Linked DNA regions of Homo sapiens: all the other regions are linked to region 3. Evidence: promoter capture Hi-C in human tissues and cell types (Jung and others, 2019). All regions are on one chromosome and are shown on one strand. The core of a region is centred on a gene start or on the middle of the fragment in contact, and the rest is flanking DNA. Distances in the headings are between cores, read along the strand shown.

What was found. The method cuts DNA at HindIII sites, captures the fragments that hold promoters and counts their contacts. A contact is called where the count stands out against the background at its distance.
Region 1: a contact is called between a fragment that was not itself captured here and the fragment with the promoter of RP9 in region 3, in 1 of the 25 tissues and cell types used here (spleen).
Region 2: a fragment that was not itself captured here is called in contact with the fragment with the promoter of RP9 in region 3 in 1 of the 25 tissues and cell types used here (mesendoderm cells).
Region 4: a fragment that was not itself captured here is called in contact with the fragment with the promoter of RP9 in region 3 in 3 of the 25 tissues and cell types used here (H1 embryonic stem cells, heart right ventricle and spleen).
Region 5: a contact is called between a fragment that was not itself captured here and the fragment with the promoter of RP9 in region 3, in 1 of the 25 tissues and cell types used here (dorsolateral prefrontal cortex).
Region 6: a contact is called between a fragment that was not itself captured here and the fragment with the promoter of RP9 in region 3, in 1 of the 25 tissues and cell types used here (spleen).
Region 7: a contact is called between a fragment that was not itself captured here and the fragment with the promoter of RP9 in region 3, in 1 of the 25 tissues and cell types used here (dorsolateral prefrontal cortex).

Annotation. Positions count from the first base shown.
Region 1 is chr7:32,761,964-32,764,923 of GRCh38, reverse strand. It overlaps LINC00997 (long intergenic non-protein coding RNA 997), which reads right to left. Exons shown (of 1, transcript NR_036501.1): 1 at 2,000-2,960. Among named protein-coding and RNA genes, the nearest start is that of LINC00997, 5.2 kb to the right of the region's middle. The HindIII fragment of the contact is 9,731 bases long and covers 1-2,960 here.
Region 2 is chr7:32,817,925-32,820,624 of GRCh38, reverse strand. No RefSeq gene overlaps it. Among named protein-coding and RNA genes, the nearest start is that of LINC00997, 61 kb to the right of the region's middle. The HindIII fragment of the contact is 4,532 bases long and covers 1-2,700 here.
Region 3 is chr7:33,107,952-33,110,664 of GRCh38, reverse strand. It overlaps RP9 (RP9 pre-mRNA splicing factor), which reads left to right and starts at 1,261. Exons shown (of 6, transcript NM_203288.2): 1 at 1,261-1,444. The coding sequence starts at 1,293. RefSeq lists silencers at 886-1,365, 1,376-1,605. The HindIII fragment of the contact is 15,438 bases long and covers 1-2,713 here.
Region 4 is chr7:32,838,381-32,841,259 of GRCh38, reverse strand. It overlaps the pseudogene DPY19L1P2. Among named protein-coding and RNA genes, the nearest start is that of KBTBD2, 52 kb to the left of the region's middle. The HindIII fragment of the contact is 4,977 bases long and covers 1-2,879 here.
Region 5 is chr7:32,694,246-32,696,945 of GRCh38, reverse strand. It overlaps the pseudogene DPY19L1P1. Among named protein-coding and RNA genes, the nearest start is that of MIR550A2, 37 kb to the left of the region's middle. The HindIII fragment of the contact is 7,417 bases long and covers 1-2,700 here.
Region 6 is chr7:32,797,132-32,799,914 of GRCh38, reverse strand. No RefSeq gene overlaps it. Among named protein-coding and RNA genes, the nearest start is that of LINC00997, 40 kb to the right of the region's middle. The HindIII fragment of the contact is 3,512 bases long and covers 1-2,783 here.
Region 7 is chr7:32,740,515-32,743,299 of GRCh38, reverse strand. No RefSeq gene overlaps it. Among named protein-coding and RNA genes, the nearest start is that of MIR550B2, 8.8 kb to the right of the region's middle. The HindIII fragment of the contact is 3,580 bases long and covers 1-2,785 here.

The DNA.
Region 1 (2,960 bases), core at 416-2,915, 350 kb after region 3:
GCACTATAGGATGGCCAGTCTAGAACATAATAAAGGAACATTTGTTTAAGCACGTGCTTTGTTTTTGATGCTTTACAAGCATTAATTCATTCGATCACATCATCAGTAAGACAAATATAACTGTCTTCATTTTTCAGATGAGGAAATTAATCCTAGAGTGGCTAAATTACTAGCTCAAGGTCATACATTGGTAATCTTCCTATATGAGTCCCCTGTGTAAAAGATTTAGAGCAGCACATGGCACACAGTTAATTTTATGTGTTACTAAACATATGAATCATAAAATATATCCTGCTTCATTTTTCCTTTAACACTATATCATGACTATTTTCCCATATTATTAAATATCCATGCAAAATGACTTTAGTGGCTGTAATGCTTCATTATATGAATGTTTCATAACTTAGTGTTTGGCATTGAGGCCATTTCTATTTTTTCAACGATATAAATAATAGCACAATGAACATTCTTATAAAAAGATTAATTTTTTAAATGATAAAATGACCAGATTTGCACTTTCAAGGACTAGATCATGGGTAAGAGCATATTTTATCCCACCAGGACACCAAGTGATGCAAAAGGCAGTTGGAAACTCCAGAAGAAACAAACTGACTAAAAAGAAAAACAATCACTCCACTTCACTTATTGTTGCAAAAAAATTAAAAAGTCATACTTTAAAATAAGGTCCTTTATTTTGAGTTTGCCTAGCCATTCAAGAATATATTCTTAACAACCACCATAAATACTTTGTATTTTAAATGCAGTATTGGACAGATAGAATTTATTAGCTGTTAAAACTTGGGCAAATAACTACATCCTGATGCTTGATTTTAAAATTTGCATATAGTTATTGCATGAATTAAGTAAGAAAACATTTTGAGCACCAAACACAATGCCAGGAATGTAGAAATGCTCCTTAAAAAAAAATCTCCCAAAACAAGAAATGAACAGTAATAGCACTTACTGAATTTAAATGAATGACAAGATAAATAGTACTGTCAGTTAAGTGCTCTAGACCTTCAGAAAAAGCATAATTAATATGGACTGGAGAAATGGGCTGGGGCTTGGAAGGTGATAGCATTCAGATGGGCAGGGAGAAAAGGATGTAAAAGCCAAGGGGTGGCTTTTCCATATGAGTAAAGGAATTCAGCAGTTATGGTGTCTCAGGCTGTGGACCTCACCTGAAATGACTGGGATGGAAGATTTGTGCCTGAGGAAGTGGGAAATTAAAGTTGAAAAGGTATATTGGGCAATTATTGAAGGCATTGGTGAGCAAGCCTAGGACTTGATTTGTGGGCTATGGGGAGCCATGAACATTTTTGTGCTGTGTTGCATCAGGAAAAATTAACCTGGCCACAATGAGCCATGATTTAGACTGGTCAGTTAGGATATGGGAGTTCAATTTGATCCATCATCAGACAGATGGGAAGTGAAGCGGTGTGGGCTCCATCCAGCATATGGCCCGTGACAAGAGGACATGGAAAATGTCAGTGGCCCCAGTGCATCTGTGCCAGCCGCTTTGGCCTCCTGTAGGGCTGCGCGGTGACTGGGAGCTAAGGGCTCCCCTCTTAGTTGGTCCTGGCTGGTGCTGAAAGCGCTTGAGCACACCGCTCCTAGGGCTGACGACTTCTGAGGAACCTTATTTTAAAAGCATTTTGCTTTAAGATTCAGTAAACGCTGTCCCATGCCAAGGAATTGGCGTCAACCTGAGGCTCTGGGATCAGACCCACCGGACTCAGGCCGGCTCTGCCACGTGTTGCCCGCAGTCTCGGCCCGTTCCCTCCGCATTGACAGCGGGCACTGACTGTCCGATACCCCAGCGATCGTAGGAGAGCAGAGACGTTCCTAATGCCGCGGGCACCACGGGCGGGCCTGCGGGTCCGTTGGCTTTCCTGACACACTTCCTACAGTCATTTCTTTCAGCTGAGATCTTCCCCTTTAATACTTCGTTAATTTGTGGCAGGACGAGTCGCAGACAAAACTCCTCAGACACCAGATTAAAGAAGGAAGAGGTTTTTTATTCGGCCGGGAGCGTCGGCAGACTCGTGTCTTAAGAGCGGAGCTCCCCGAAAAAGAAATTCCTAGGCCTTTTAAGGGCTTACAACTCTAAGGGGTCTACGTGAAAAAGTCATAATAGATCAAGTAAGCGTGAAAAACGTGACTGGGGGCTACATACATCAGCTAACAGAACAAAAAGTTTTACAGTACTTTCTCATACAGTGTCTGGAATTTACACATAACACCAATAGTTTTGGTCAGGGGTTAATAATATTATTATTATTTTAGCCACCAGGGCCAGGTGGTGGTGCCAAGGTCCTCCAGCTATTTATCTTACTTCTGTTTCTTTCTAACTTTTTGCTTTCTCCCTTTTCTCCTGTCTTATAAAATAGGGAATAGGAGAGGTTGGGGAGAAACTGAGAAGGACAATAGGAGAAGTGGTGACCTCATACCATAAATTAACGTGTAACCTTTTGGTTAAAATGTCAAAGCTAAGACTAAACTCGAAGAAAAGAATTAAATCACGGGAAGTTCTTCAGACTTAGTCGCCAGCAAGGTTATGGCCCGAAGTGGTGCAGGGGCGGCACGCGGGGAAGCGACTGGCAGAGCTGTGCGCACTGGGGGTGCTGCAGGCGCTGGGGAGAGTGTGGAGAGGCTGCGTGGAGCTGCGCGCTCGGGGTGGGGGCTGCACTCCCAGTGAAGCGCGTGAAGGGCGAGCGGTGATGGGTTCTGCGCCAGTGGGGCTGGGAGCGTGTGGGGGGCTGTACGTGCAGCTGCCGCAAGGTGGAGAGTGCACGTGTGGGCTTGGGGACTACGCGCACCGGGGGCTGAAGGCGTTGGGGAGGGTGTGGGGGGCTGTGCGTGGGGCTGCCCTCACTGGAAGCTGCACGCTCAGGGAAGCTCGGAGGCGGGGGTCCTGCGAGTGCTGGGGAGCACGTGGGGGGACACGCAGGGACTGCCCG
Region 2 (2,700 bases), core at 136-2,635, 290 kb after region 3:
ACTTCTATAACATTCTCTCAGGACACATATAGGCAAATCAAAATAACTAAAAGTTACATGCCAAAACTGGTGCTATACTATTTTAAGAAAATTTATGAAGAATGACAATGTTGTATTATATCCTATTTGACTACATGGGTATTTATTAGGACAACAAAGGCACACTGTGGTGTCCCAGCTCCCTCACTGGTGATAACCCAGCAAAGCATGGAATGAAAAAAACCTTTGAGATTTTCACTAGGCAACCAAGTAGAGATGACAAATAGGTGGTTATATGTGTAAATCTGAGTTCAAGGGAGAAGTCTGTGTCAGAGACAGAAATGTGTGAGTTGACAACGCACACCTTCTCTTTCTTAAGCACTGATATGTTCCCAAGTTCTAGAGTAATACCTGGCACTTACAGCTCAACATTTTTAATGAATGAACAAGTGTATCAATAAACTGTTAATCCAGGCCAGGTGCGGTGGCTCACGCCTGTAATCCCAGCACTTTGGGAGGCTGAGGTGGGCGGATCACAAGGTCAGGAGATCGAGACCATCCTGGCTAACACAATGAAACCCCGTCTCTACCAAAAAAACATACAAAAAATTAGCCAGGTGTGGTGGCGGGCGCCTGTAGTCCCAGCTACTCAGGAGGCTGAGGCAGGAGAATGGCGTGAACTTGGGAGGCGGAGCTTGCAGCGAGCCGAGATAGTGCCGCTGCACTCCATTCTGGGCAACACAGCGAGACTCCGTCTCAAACAAACAAACAAAAAAACAAAAAACTGTTAATCCAGGTAGCATATAATCTAATTTGAGAATTTGGCCTCAAAAAGACTGATATATTAGCAAACTCAGTAGTACATAGGGGGCTAGTGAAGGAGATGAAACAGTTCTTTCTTTATTCTTGTTTCACTCCACATAAAAACTATCAGTTACCATTTGTTGAGTACTTACAATGTTAATATGCTTAGTACATTCCATTAACTCTAATCCTACAACCATTTATTACCCCAATTTACAGCCAAGGAAAGGGAATCACAGAGCTGCTAAGTGGCAGCCAGGACTATATTCTGCCTGACTTCAGAGCCAATATACTTTTTACTACATCATGCTGCCTCTAACCCACTTTACTTCCTGGGTCTTTGAGTAAAGAGAATATTGGCATTCACGTCTTTCATAGTTAAAATTTATGTCCTACTCTTCTCCTTTTTACACTGGCTTTGGTAGCTATGCAAAATAAAATGTCAACATTGCCACTCCTCTTCCAAAAAAGAGCTCTGATCCTATTTGAACTGAAAACCCCATGAAGCTTAATGGTTTCCTATAATTATTTCTATAGGTGAGTTATTACTCTTGAAGGGACAGCTTTGTTTCTGTGAGAAGTTCCACCTTCCTCTTCCAGAGCTGCATACTACAGCTGAAACTTTGTAGCTTCTTCCTGAGCTCTTCAAAAGTAATTTCACCTCAAATGAAGAAAAATTTCGGCATTGTAAACCAGAACGTTTTTCTTTCCCCCTTAGCCCTCAACTCAAATGTTACAGGTATAAACATATACCTGTATATGTTACAGTAAATTGTTTCTAAGTGAGAACAAGGATTCTCTCAGGAGTATGTGCAATAATTTATCATTATGTTGGCAGAGACTTGGAGGTGAGGGAATAATATAAGGGTGTGTATATTCAAATTATAAAAGAAAATATAGGGCCAGGTGAGGTGGCTCATGCCTATAATCCCAGCACTTTGGGAGGCTGAGGCAGGCAGATCACGACATCATGAGTTCAAGACCAGCCTGGCCAATATGGTGAAACCCTGTCTCTACTAAAAATACAAAAATAAGCTAGGCATGGTGGTGGTCGCCTGTAGTCTTAGCTATTCAGGAGGCTGAGGCAGATGAAATTGCCTGAACCCGGGAGGCAGAGGTTGCAGTGAGCCAAGATCGTGCCACTGCACTCCTCCAGCCTGGGCGACAGAGCCAGGCTCTGTCTCAAAAAAAAAAAAAAAAAAAAAAAGAACAGAAAATATAGATACATACATTAGACAATCCTTGTCCTCCCAAAATCCTACAAAAGAATAAAAGTAAAGTTAAAACTACCTTCACTCCATCTTCCAATCCCACACTCTTAATAATTACAGGATTTATCTTTCCAGATCACTTCTATGCACAAACACATAAAAATCTCCAAATTTTAAACAGAAGTATAATCATCCTATACACACACACACACACACACACACACACACACACACACACACACACACACACACAGAGGCAATTTTTAAAATTCAATAATGTATACTGGACCTATTTCCAGAAAGATGGCCTAACATTCCACTCTATGATTGGATCATAGTAGATATTTTGGATGTTTCCATTTCTCACATTACACACAATACTACAAAAGACATTTCTCCCCATCATCTCTGTATTTCTGTGAGCATCTCTGGAGAGTACACTTGCGCTGGTAGAACCTGCAGGGCTAAAGTACAGGCCCACTATATGTTTTACTGTTTATTGCCAAATTTCCCTCCCATCTACTACCTCCCACTCTTGCAAGCATTGGGTATACTATTAATTTTTAGAAATATGAGAAGTGAAAAGGTCTTCACTTCAACCTGAATGTCTTTACCATAGGATCAAGACTACCTTTTCATGTTCATTAGTCATATGTAAATACTCACTCATTCAACTACTATCCTTTACTATCTTGCAGGCACTGTA
Region 3 (2,713 bases), core at 12-2,511:
AGTTAAAAAGAATTTTGGAAAGAGCAGTATCACATAGAAAATTAATGAGACTGTATCATCGAGGAGAGCCATGTCCTAAAAGAAAAAAAAAAAAGCTATTCATCATGATGCAAGACTTCAAAATATGTTAATCATCATAAAAGTTGGGCAGTTCATGTGGACAATCGCCATGCAATTGCCCATAATCTATCCCTGCAATACACTTTTTCTATGTTGAATTTTCTTTTTAGTTTGCTTTCGTTTTTCTATTTTCTCTTTTAGCTTTTTCATTATTGTAAATTGTCAGCATTATGTTTTACAATTCACTATGCTATGTATTACATCTTAACATCATTTCTAATACTGGAGGCATCAACTATATAAAGACTTTTAGAGAGTTCAAATTTGTTTTATGCATTTTTTGCAAATATGACTCAATCAAAGCTCATTATTACAATGGTGACTGTGTAAGCATTCTACATATATGCAAAAATGTAGAAATTTCCTCGATAAATAAATAAGTGTCTTTTCTGTACATCTGCATTTGTGAAAGATGAAATTTCTCAGGATCTTGGCTCCTCGGGTGACTGGCACAGTGGTGACGTCATGGTGACCCATCCTGTCAAAAGAGTTAGGTTGTCTCTCATGGTATATCAGATGACCGCAGTTATAAAGCTGGGTGCACACTATTACCGAACATAATTATATGTTTATACATTTCACTTTTTGAACACTTTTTTTTTTTTTTTTCTGAGAGACAATCTCGCTTTTTCGCCCAGACTGGAGTGCAGGGGCACCATCTCGGCTCACTGCAACCTCTGCCTCCTGGGTTCAAGCAATTCTCCTGCCTCAGCCACCCAAGTAGCTGGGACTACTGGCGCCCGCCACCACGCCTGGCTAATTTGAACATTTTTTTATGAATACATTTCATCTGCTCATCCCTATGTGACTGTTGCTAGTATACCTGAGGTGGGTGTGGCCGGGCGGGAACCTCCAGGCTCCCAACTAGCGCCTCGCCCCGCTTCGGCTCCAGCTAGGCGGCGCTCCCCACCCACCCGCAGCAGCCCGCCTGGCGGCTGGGCCCGAGACCCGGAGCCCCTGACTTGGGGCCCGACGCGGGGAGGCGGGGATCGGGTGGCCGAGGCTGAGACTTCGGGGCCGCCGGGGTGAGTTGCGGGGCGGCGGCGGGAGGGGGCGCTGCGAAGCCCCGCGACCGCCGCGCGGAGGAAGTGCTCTCTTGGCTGCCGCCGCCGCCGCCGCCGCCGCCGGAGCCGCGCCGCGGGGGTTGCCCGAGCGGCGCTGCGGGGGCTGACATGTCGTCCCGGCCTGGGCGCGAGGACGTGGGGGCTGCGGGCGCGCGGCGGCCGCGTGAGCCGCCGGAGCAGGAGCTGCAGCGACGTCGGGAGCAGAAGCGGCGGCGACACGACGCGCAGCAGCTGCAGCAGCTCAAGCACCTGGAGTCCTTGTGAGTCCCGAGCTGCCGTCCGCGCGCGGCCAGTCTTCTGAAGCCAGGGGCCCGGGGCGCGGGACGCCGCGGTGGGCGCTAGGCCGGGTCCTCCGAGCCCCCGCGAGCAGGCAGGGGGGCTGGGCCCGGCAGGAGCCTGGTGCGGGCGACCGATGTCGGGCGCCGCGGTCAAGGACTTGAAGTCCATCCTCCTGGCGGGGCGTTCAGGGAGCCAACTGCCGCTCGGCACCAAGCAGAATCTGACTTGGGAGGCCCTGCGCTTCCCTAGCTCCAGGGGGTTCCAGGAGAGTCCAAATGACCCGGGAGAGTGTGGTGTAAAGAAGATTCAAATGTAGGGGAAGGAAATATGGTTTCCCTCTACCCTTCTAAGTTCTTAAGCTGGGCCACAAATTAAATTGTCATAAGACAGATTAACAGGAGAAAAACTTTTAATTATGTACCCGTGCACTAGAGGGCCACAAAAGTGGGAGACAAAGAAGGGCCAGGGAATAGGGGCGTGGGCCTTTTGGGGCGTGGTGGAGACCTTTTGGAAGGGTGATGGGGGAAATGTATGGTGAATAAAGGTTGCTTTGTTATCCCGATGAGGCGCTCAGGCGATAAAAGTTGCCCCCAAGCAGCTGTCTTCCTGATACAGATACATTTACTACAGAAAATTTCCTTTATAGGTGTAAATTTCTGTTTACAACAGGCGAGTCGAAAAATAATAAGAACAAAAGGAAAAAAAGCAGTCATACTTTATTTTAGGCAGTTGAGGGGTAGCTGAATAAGTTATCCTGTGTTGTTTGGTTCTGTTACTTATAGCTCAAAGTCATCAATATGCCAGGGTGGCATGTTTGGGGATGGTGCATTCTTGTCTTTTGCAGTCATTTATCAGGGTGGCGTTTCCTAAATTCTAACACAGACCTCGAGTGGAAAGTTCAGGCAGCAACTCTTTCAGTTCTTGTCCGTGATTCTATAATTAGCTGCATAAAACAACCTTTTCTAAGTGTGGCATTCACTCAGTTATTCAAGAATTCGTTTCTGTTTTAGCCACTTCTAGTTACCTGTGCTAAGTAGGTGTTAAGTATAGCCTAACGCTGCCTCCTTGAATATTTTAAGTTTAGCCTAAAAGTTTCTCTGTACTTAGTGAACTGTAACCTAAGTAGATGTGTAAACAGACTGTAACCTACTGTTATAAGTACCTGAGTCTCAGACAATCACAGCAGCTGATTTTCAGGCCGTCACAGGTGGTCAGCCTTTGAAACCCTGTTCAAAGAAGGCAAACGCCAG
Region 4 (2,879 bases), core at 33-2,532, 270 kb after region 3:
AACTCACCTGGCAGCCACTCCCGGAGCCCCTGGAACTCTGGCCCAAGGCTCTCTGACTGACTCCTTCTCGGCTTAGCGGTTGAAGACTCATGCTGCCCGATCGCCTCAGAAGCCCTGTAGACCATCACGGACGCCGAGCTTTGGGTAACTCTCACAGTGGAAGATAAGTCCGTCCCCTTCTTAATCAATACGGAGGCTACCCACTCCACATTACCTTCTTTTCAAGGGCCTGTTTCCCTTGCCTCCATAACTGTTGTGGGTATTGACGGCCAAGCTTCAAAACCCCTGAAAACTCCCCCACTCTGGTGCCAACTTGGACAACACTCTTATGCACTCTTTTTTAGTTATCCCCACCTGCCCAGTTCCCTTATTAGGCCGAGATATTTTAACCAAATTATCTGCTTCCCTGACTATTCCTGGACTACAGCTGCATCTCATTGCCACCCTTCTCCCCAGCCCAAAGCCTCCTTTGCATCTTCCTCTCATATCCCCCCACCTTAACCCACAAATATGGGACATCTCTACTCCTTCCCTGGCAACCGATCACATGCCCATTACCATCCCGTTAAAATCGAATCACCCTTACCCTGCTCAACGCCAATATCCCATCCCACAGCATGCTTTAAAAGGATTAAAGCCTGTTATCACTCGCCTGCTACAGTATGGGCTTCTAAAACCTATAAACTCTCCTTACCATTCCCCCATTTTACCTGTCCTAAAACCAGACAAGGCTTACAAGTTAGTTCAGGATCTGCGCCTTATCAACCAAATTGTTTTGCCTATCCACCCCATGGTGCCCAACCCATATATTCTCCTATCCTCAATACCTCCCTCTATTACCCATTATTCTGTTCTGGATCTCAAACATGCTTTCTTTACTATTTCTTTGCACCCTTCATCCCAGCCTCTCTTTGCCTTCACTTAGACTGACCCTGACACCCATTAGGCTCAGCAAATTACCTGGGCTGTACTGCCGCAAGGCTTCACAGACAGCCCCCATTACTTCAGTCAAGCCCAAATTTCATCCTCATCTGTTACCTATCTCAGCATAATTCTCATAAAAACGCACATGCTCTCCCTGCTGATCGTGTCCGATTAATCTCCCAAACCTCAATCCCTTACAAAACAACAACTCCTTTCCTTCCTAGGCATGGTTAGCATGGTCAGAATTCTTACACAAGAGCCAGGACCACACCCTGCAGCGTTTCTGTCCAAACAACTTGACCTTACTGTTTTAGCCTAGCCCTCATGTCTGCATGCAGCGGCTGCCGATGCTTTAATACTTCTAGAGGCCCTAAAAATCACAAACTATGCTCAACTCACTCTACATTTCTCATAACTTCCGAAATCTTTTTCTTCCTTATACCTGACGCATATACTTTCTGCTCCCCAGCTCCTTCAGCTGTACTCACTCTTTGTTAAGTCCCACAATTACCATTGTTCCTGGCCCGGACTTCAATCTGGCCTCCCACATTATTCCTGATACCACACCTGACCCCCATGACTGTATCTCTCTGATCCACCTGACATTCACCCCATTTCCCCATATTTCCTTCTTTCCTGTTCCTCACCCTGATCACGCTTGATTTATTGATGGCAGTTCCACCAGGCCTAATCGCCACACACCAGCAAAGGCAGGCTATGCTATAGCACAAGCCACTATCCCGCCTCTTAGAACCTCTCATTTCCTTTCCATCGTGGAAATCTATCCTCAAGGAAATAACTTCTCAGTGTTCCATCTGCTATTCTACTACTCCTCAGGGATTATTCAGGCCCCCTCCCTTCCCTACACATTAAGCTCGCTCAATTCATCCAAAACCGTATCCAGGCCATCACCAATCATTCTATACGACAAATGTTTCTTCTAACATCCCCACAATATCACCCCTTACCACAAGACCTCCCTTCAGCTTAATCTCTCCCACTCTAGGTTCCCACGCCACCCCTAATCCCGCTTGAAGCAGCCCTGAGAAACATCACCCATTCTCTCTCCATACCACCCCCCAAAAATTTTCGCCGCCCCAACACTTCAACACTATTTTGTTTTATTTGTCTTATTAATATAAGAAGGCAGGAATGTCAGGCCTCTGAGCCCAGGCCAGGCCATCGCATCCCCTGTGACTTGCACGTATACATTCAGATGGCCTAAAGTAACTGAAGATCCACAAAAGAAGTAAAAACAGCCTTAACTGATGACATTCCACCATTGTGATTTGTTCCTGCCCCACCCTAACTGATCAATGTACTTTGTAATCTCCCCCACCCTTAAGAAGGTTCTTTGTAATTCTCCCCACACTTGAGAATGTACTTTGTGAGATCCACCCCTGCCCACCAGAGAACAACCCCCTTTGATTGTAATTTTCCATTACCTTCCCAAATCCTATAAAATGGCCCCACCCTTATCTCCCTATGCTGACTCTCTTTTTGGACTCAGCCCACCTGCACCCAGGTGAAATAAACAGCCATGTTGCTCACACAAAGCCTGTTTGGTGGTCTCTTCACACGGACGCGCATGAAAGGTATGAGTCATTTTTATAATTAGAATGACATTCAAATTGACCAAATAAAACATTTTCTATTTGAAAACAGTTACCTATAAAAGTTTTTGGGATATGAACAACACATGACTTAGCAAAACATTAAAACCATTAGAGATGTAGTTCTCCGTAGGCAGCAGGTCATGTAGCAGTCATTCTTTTACAACTTCTAGGACTTTGTAAACACTGTTCTGGAATACAGTGGTGAAGTGAGGTTTGGAATCCTTCACCAAGAGGTTACATAAGGGAGTTTTCCCAGCATTGGCAGGATCTTCTACATCCCAAATTTCAGGCATACTGCAACCAGGCCTAGAAAAATGAATGTACATGTTAAAAATCAGT
Region 5 (2,700 bases), core at 136-2,635, 410 kb after region 3:
AAGGAATCCTAGAATATAGAGAAGAAATATAAAACGCAAAATAGATACACAGAGGGGTAGATATAATAGACTATTCTTCTCATGAGTATTTCCTTTAGTATACTTTTTTTGCTTTATTTTGTTATTTATTTAGATTTTTAAGTCAAGAATTTAATTCATTTATTTTCACTCTTTCATTTTTATTGATAAAGCTTTTGAGGCCATGAATTTGCTTCTTATCCTTGCTTTAAATGTCTTCCTTAGTTTGCATATGGAAATGGTATTGCCTGCCATGCTGATGCCATCATTCTATTTTTCACCTTTCTGAATCTGTTTGTATTTGTCTTCCCTGTGTAGCATAAGTTGAGTCTGTCTTTGCTTTGTGAGATAATGTGAGAACCTTTGTTGTAAGTTTTATGTGTATTTGACTATATTTGCTTTGTTTCTGTATATGATTCTCTTTTAAACTTTTTGTATTTGAGAAGGTTACTATTATTTCCTCAATTATTGCATATTTGAAACTTTTTTTATAACATCTATACTTGAATGACAGATTGGCTAGATATAAAATCCTTGGTTCTCCCTTTTTTTTTTGAGATGGAGTCTTGCTCTGTCGCCCAGGCTGGAGTTCAGTGGCACGATCTTGGCTCACTGCAGCCATAAAAAATGATGAGTTCATGTCCTTTGTAGGGACATGGATGAAACTGGAAACCATCATTCTCAGCAAACTATCACAAAGACCAAAAACCAAACACGGCATGTTCTCACTCATAGGTGGGAATTGAACAATGAGAACACATGGACGTGGGAAGGGGAACATCACACACCGGGGACTGTTGTGGAGTGAGGGGAGGGGGGAGGGATAGCATTAGGAGATACACCTAATGCTAAATGACGAGTTAATGGGTGCAGCATGCCAACATGGCACATGTATACATATGTAACAGACCTGCACGTTGTGCACATGTACCCTAAAACTTAAAGTATAATAATAATAAAAAGAAAATAAGTCGTTATTACCTAATAAGTTTTAAGGTATATAGTGTCTGCAATTTATAGTTTCACCCTAAAGAAATATTGGTACAAATATACCAAGGAAACCAATTACATGAATCTTCATGGAAGCATTATTTGTACCTGAGAAAAAAAAGCTGAAAACAACTCAAAGGCCCACCAACAGAATGGATAAAATGAATATTTCCATACAAAGTAATATTGTAAATGAGTGAATGTGATCTACAGTCAAAAGTGTCAGCGGGAACCAATGTCAAATAGACTGTTAAAGATAAAAAACTAAGTCATCAAAGGGGATGAGTGTGCATGTCAATATATATGCCATTTACATATGCCCTAAAAACAAACAAGACAACAATATTATAGAAGATATAGTGTGGCAAAACAGCGAAAGCATAGGCATAGTTAATTCAAAACAGGCTGGTGATCACTTCTAGGAAAGAATGCAATACAGGAGAAGCCCTGGGTGCTTCAATGTTAATATTCAATTTCTTGGTGTTAAGTATACAAGTGTTCATTTTATAATTCTTTAAAATATGTGTGTATATATGTATATAATGCTTATATATTTATACTCTTCAAAGTAGGGCTTTGATTCCTCATCAGTGGTTCTTAAACCTCATGTTCTCTTTAGGTAGCTCTGGGTGCTTAAATAAGCACCAAGAATTGTTCTGATGACACGTCTAGCTATTCAAATACATGTTCAAATTGTAGATTTTATTGTTTCCATTTGTGCAATGAATTTTTTTCCTTCCAACTTCTATTTTAGGTTCAGGGGTACATTTGCAGGTTTGTTATATAGGTAAATCACATGTCATGGGGTTTGGTGTACAGATTATTTTGTCACCCAGGTAATAAGCATAGTACCTGATAGGTATTTTCTCAGTCCTCACTCTCCTCCCACCCTCCACCCTCAAGTAGGCCCTGGTGCCTGTTATTCCCTTCTTTTTGTCCATGTGTGCTCAATGTTTAGCTCGTACTTATAAGGAGCACATACAGTATTTGGTTTTCTGTTCTGTGTTAGTTCACTTAGGAAACTGGCCTCCAGCTCCATCTGTGTTGCTACAGAGGACATGATCTCATTCTTTTTATATGGCTGTATAGTATTCCATGGTATATATGTACCATATTTTCTTTATCCATTCCGCCGTTGATGGGCATTTAGGTTGATTCCATGTCTTTGCTATTGTGAATAATGCTGCAATGAACATACGTGTATATGTGTTTTTATGGTAGAACAATTTATATTCCTTTGGGTATATATCCAGTAATGGGATTGCTGGGTTGAATGATAGCTCCATTTTAAATTCTTTGAAAAATCTCCAAACTGCTTTCCACGGTGGCCAAACTGGTTTACATTTCTACCAGCAGTGTATAAGTGTTCTCTTTTCTCCAAAACTTCACCAGCATCTTTTTTTTTTTAAACTTTTTCATCATAGCCATTCTGACTGGTGTGAGATGGCATCTTACTGTGGTTTTGATTTGCATTTCTCTAATGATTAGTGATGGTGAACATTTTTTCATATGCTTGTTGCCTACATGCATGTCTCCTTTTGATAAGTGTCTGTTCACATTTTTTGCCCATTTTTAATGAGGCCGTTTGTTTTTGCTTGTTGGTTTAAGTTCCTTTTAGGTACTGGATATTAGACCTTTGTCAGATGTGTAGTTTGCAGGTGTTTTCCCCCATTCTGTAGGCTGTGTGTTTAC
Region 6 (2,783 bases), core at 133-2,632, 310 kb after region 3:
TCCTTATGCAGTACCATGTTATCTTTATTATAATAAAATTTTGAAATAGTTTAGAGTAAGTCTCCTTTGTTCTTTTTGTAAAAATTGTTTTGACTATTGTAGGACCTTTGCTTTTCCACATAAACGTTATAATCAGCCCATCCATTTCTGCAAAAAAAGGAAAAAAAACATAGTGGTGGTTTGATAACAATTGCATTGAATCTGCAGACCAATTTGGAGAGAATTACCAACTTACCAATATCAACTCCTCCAAACTATGAACATGGTATATTTCTCTCTTCAGATCTTTTTAAATCTCTCTCAGCAATGTTATATAGTGTACAGTTCTTATACATCTCTTGTTGAATTTATTGCTAAATGGTTTTCTTTAATGACACTGTTAATTTTTTTATGGCTGGGCACAGTAACATAATCCCAGCCCTTTGGGAGATCAAAGTGGGCAAATTGCTTGAGCCCAGGAGTTTGAGACCAGCCTGGGCAACATGACAAAACCCCATCTCTACAAAAAATATGAAAATTAGCCGGGCATGGTAGCTTGTGCCTGCAGTCTCAGGTACTCAGGAGGCTGCAGTGGGAGGACTGATTGAGACTGGGAGGTTGAGGCTGCAGTTAACCATGATGGCACCACTGCACTCCAGCTTGGGTGACAGAGTGAGACCTTACCTCAAAAAAAAAATGTTTTTTAATAGTTGATAGTACATACAATGCAGTTGTTTATTGACTTTTTTTTTTTTTTTCAGAGATGAGGTCTTGCTCTGTTGCCCAGGCTAGCCTTGAACTACAGGGCTTAAGTGACCCTCCCACGTCAGCCACCTCAGTAGCTGGGACTGCAGGCATGAGCCACCAAGCTTGGCTTATATTGGTCTTTATCTTGTAATCCGGCTACGTTATTATTTCTAGAGTTTTTGTTTTGTTTTTTGAGACTCCTTCAAAGCCATATGCCTTTTCATTTTTCCTTAAACTATTGAGGGTTAAATTTTTTCTTTTCCTTGTCTTATTGCCTCAGTTAGGACTTCCAGTACAATTGTGAATAGAGGTGGTGAAAGCTGACATCTTTGTTTAGCTCCTGATGGTAGGGGGAAAGTTTTCCATCTTTCACTATTATACATATTAGCTGTAGATTTTTCATAGATGTTCCTCATCAGGTTGAGGAAGTTTCTTTCTCTTCCTAATTTGGTGAGTTTTAATCATAAATGGGTCCTCTAATTTGTCAAATAATTTTTCTATGTATTAGTCCATTTTCACACTGCTATTAAGAGCTACCTGAGAGTGGGCAGTTTATAAAGAAAAGATGTTTAATTGACTCACAGTTCCACATGGCTGGAGAGGCCTCAGGAAACTTACAATTATGGCAGAAGGCAAAGGAGAAACAAGCCATATCTTACATGGCGACGAGAGAGAGAGAAGAGAGAGAGGAGAGAGACAAAGGAGAGAAGGAGAGAGAGAGAGAGCAAGTGCAAAGGGGGATGTGCCACACTTTTAAACCATCATATCTAGTGAGAACTCACTATCACAAGAACAGCATGGAGAACTGCCCCCATGATCCAGTCACCTCCCACCAGTTCCCTACCCTAACATGTGCGGACTAAAAATTCCACATGAGGCCGGGCGCAGTGGCTCATGCCGGTAATCCCAGCACTTTGGGAGGCCGAGGCGAGCGAATCACCTGAGATCGGGAGTTGGAGACCAGCCTGACCAACATGGTGAAACCCTGTTTCTACTAAAATACAAAAAATTATCCAGGTGCACAGGCGTGGTGGCGCACGCCTGTAGTCCCAGCTACTAGGGAGGCTGAGGCAGGACAATAGCTTGAACCCGGGAGGCGGAGGGTGCAGTGAGCCGACATCACCCCACTGCACTCCAGCCTGGTGACAGAGCAAGACTCTGTATATATATATAAAAAAAAATTCCACATGCGATTTTGGTGGGGACACAGAGCCAAACCATATCAGTATCTATTGGCACAGTCCTATGGTTTTTGTCCTTTATTCTGTTAGTATGGTATGTGATTTTCTGATATTAAAGCAATCTTTTATTTATGAGATAAACTCTACTTGTTTATATCATTTTTATATGTTGGGAAGTTTTTTTTTTTTTTTAATTCCAACTCATTTGATGGTTATTTGACAAATCCTTTCTCCATGGTGTCAGAGACATTTCAGTACTAATTAGAATTCCAAAATAGTTGCCTGAATGACTTTACTGAAATTAAATTTTTCTTCATGACCTATACACTCCTTTACATAGGTTTTGTTCAGTTCTGTGCTTGTTATGTGCCACACACTTTTAGGTGTTGAAGATAAAGAGATAAATAGGGTAGACACAAGCCCTTGCCCTCACAGCAGTGAAGACAATCAAAATGACTAATACAGTTGGGTGTTAAGTAATATGAGGTGCATTTGAAATTTAAACAAAAGGAACCAAGATAGAATTTTTGTTAAAGCCTCCTGGAGGAAGTTACATGAGGTGTAAATTGAACTTAACCAGGGTTACCATATCATTTACCATCCAAACAGGCACACTTTTGAGAGTGATAGTGAAAACAAGCATAAACTAGGATGTATGGTTACCTAAGATTTAACCAGTCCATGGGGAATGGTGCTTAAGGCAGAAAAAACTGTATGAAAAGAAGGCCCATTAAAGTAACTAAAACATTCAATTTGGTCAGTTTGTAAATTGTGAAGAAGGAAATTAGTCCAGAAAAGCAAGCAAAGACCAGATTCAAAAGGCCTTATAAATCAGAAAATAACCTGGATTTTATTTCAAGGGTAATAAATGTTCTA
Region 7 (2,785 bases), core at 146-2,645, 370 kb after region 3:
TGAATTGTTAACATGTTAATACACAGTTCCTTTATTCCAGCACTTTGGGAGGCCGAGGCAGGCAGATCACCTGAGGTCAGGAGTTCGAGACCAGCCTGGCCAACATGGTAAAACCCTGTCTCTACTAAAAATACAAAAATTAGCCAAGCATGGTGGTACACACCTGTAATCTCAGCCACTTGGGGGGCTGAGACAGGAGAATTGCTTGAACCCAGGAGACAGGTTGCAGTAAACCGAGATGGTGCCACTGCACTCTAGCCTGGGCAACAGAGTGAGACTCTGTCTCAAAAAAAAGAAAAAAAAAGCTTGAAAACCATTAGATTCCTTAGAGGACTAGTTGAACATGTTCATACCAGAGGACTGAAAGTGACTTTCACTTTTTTTGAATGATCTGAATTTTTTTTTTTTTTTTGAGACATAGTTTCGCTCTTGTTGCCCAGGCTGGAGTGCCATGGTGCGATTTCAGCTCACTGCAACCTACGCCTCCTGGGTTCAAGCAATTCTCCTGCCTCAGCCTCCCGAGTCGCTGGAAATTACAGGCATGCATCACTATGCCCGGCTAATTTTTGTAGAGACAGGGTTTCACCATGTTAGTCCGGCTGGTCTCAAACTCCCGAGCTGAGGTGATCCACCCGCCTCGGCCTCCCAAAGTGCTGGGATTACAGGCGTGAGCCACCACGCCCAGCTGCATCATCTAAATTTTTATAGGAGCGAATTCTTATTTCTTCTGCAATTAAAAAAAGAAAACTTCTAAGTAAAGATAATTAGTTGTACACATTCATTAGCTTCCGCTCAGTCCAAACATCCTACTAAAATGATAAAAATGTAATTTTTAAAGGGAATACGCCTATAAAAAATTCAAGAAGATGAAATAAAAAGCAGTACCTTTAGACTCTGGAAAGAAAATTAATGAGTAATAATTTTCACTGCAGAACTAGGAAAGCAGAGAAGCAAACTGCTTTACAGCAGGCACAAGAATTGGCAAGCACAAGATATCTCTGGAAGCAGGGGTGAAGGCAGGCCTAAAAGAGAAAGATTCATCGCCAGTCTGTGTGGAAGCCGTGAGATCTCCCAGTTGTCCTCCCTGACTTGCAGCAGCTAAGCAACCCCAACCCTGGCACTCTACTACAAATTTGTTATTAGGAGAGGGAAAAGTTTCTAGACTTGCAGACAACAGGAATAGCTGAAGGCAGAGGTCCTGTATTGATACTAAATATGGAGATTAAATGAAAGTATCACTTTGAGTATTAAGACTCTCAATCTTATTCTTACTCTGCTCCTAGACCACTAGCAGAAACGATTGTGTCTTCCAGGCAAGAAAAGCCATTTCTGGAAAATATGACCAGCCCAAGAGAAAAGACAGTAATATTCCTAAGAAAATGGCCCAGACAGAGGACATTACATGCACAGAGAGCTTCCAATTTGCTTTTTAGTGCCCCCCACTTTAAAAGTATCAGGAGTAGGCCAAAGATCACCAAACATTTAAAGAAAATATCTAACAAAAGAATGAAGCCAAACAAACAGAAAAAGCAAGTGGGAAGAAACTGAGTCATCAGGAAAGGGAACAAAGCATACACATACATATATATACATACACATACATATATAGACTTATACACAAACAGATGCACATGTAAATACGCATCAGTAATATTCTTAGAAAAAGATATTGTACCCACAAAACAAAAATGGAATATATGAAAAAAACATTATTTTTTTAAAGACCTCAGAAATTTTAAAAAACATTAAAAATTAAGTTAAAAATTAAAATTACAGAAACAAATAAAAACTGACAAAAGAGTTATAAGATCACATTTTTAAAAGTCCCTATCTGGGCATGGTGGCATGCACCTGTAATCCCAACTACTCAAGAGGCTGAGGCAGGAGGATCACTTGAGCCCAGGAGTTTAAGGCTGCAGTGAGCTAGGATCACATGACTATACTCCAACCTAGGTGACAGAGCCTCAAGACCTTGTCTTTAATTAAATAAATAAATCCCTCAAAAGAAAAAAAGAACAAAAACCAAAGACATAAAAAAATTGAAGAGAAAAAAGAAAAAGCAAAGGATTACTCTAGGTGTACAACATCTAAATCATCAAAGAAAAAAATGGCAAAAAAAAAAAAAATCACAGAAAGCAGCTGACTCAAAGAGCCTACCAAATATGTTGCACAATGAATGAAAAGAGTTCCCTCCCATGGCATGTAATAATGAAATTTTCATACAAAGGATCAAAAACCATAATGACATCTATGTGCTCAACAGCAACACTAGAAGCCAGAAGGCAACAAGGCAACACATTTTAAATTCTCAGGGAAAATAACTTCAACCTAGAATTCTATATCAAGTCAAAGTACTAATCAAAAATGAGGGCAGAAATAAAATATTTTCAGGAATGGAAGCCTCAAAAAAATTTTACCTTACACATATTCTTTCTCAGTAGGAACTATGAGATTATATCAACTAAAAACAATGGAGAACATCAAGAAAGAAGACACATAAATTCAAGGAACCAGGAAACTGAACATAAGAGAGAAGCAGGCAAATACAATTTCCAAGATGATGATGAACAAAGAGGGATCTCATAGGATAATCATTTCAGAACAGGGTAGGTCAGAGGGTCTCAAAAGAGACTTTAACAAGAAAATGAAATTCAGGCAATACTCATTATATGAATAATCTGAGAGGAGATTTATACAAATGAGGGAGGGTTGTAAAACTAAACAGTTTTTTTTAACTAACAAATTTTTAAAAGACAAAAGAGAAAACACAAAATTGTACAGGAAA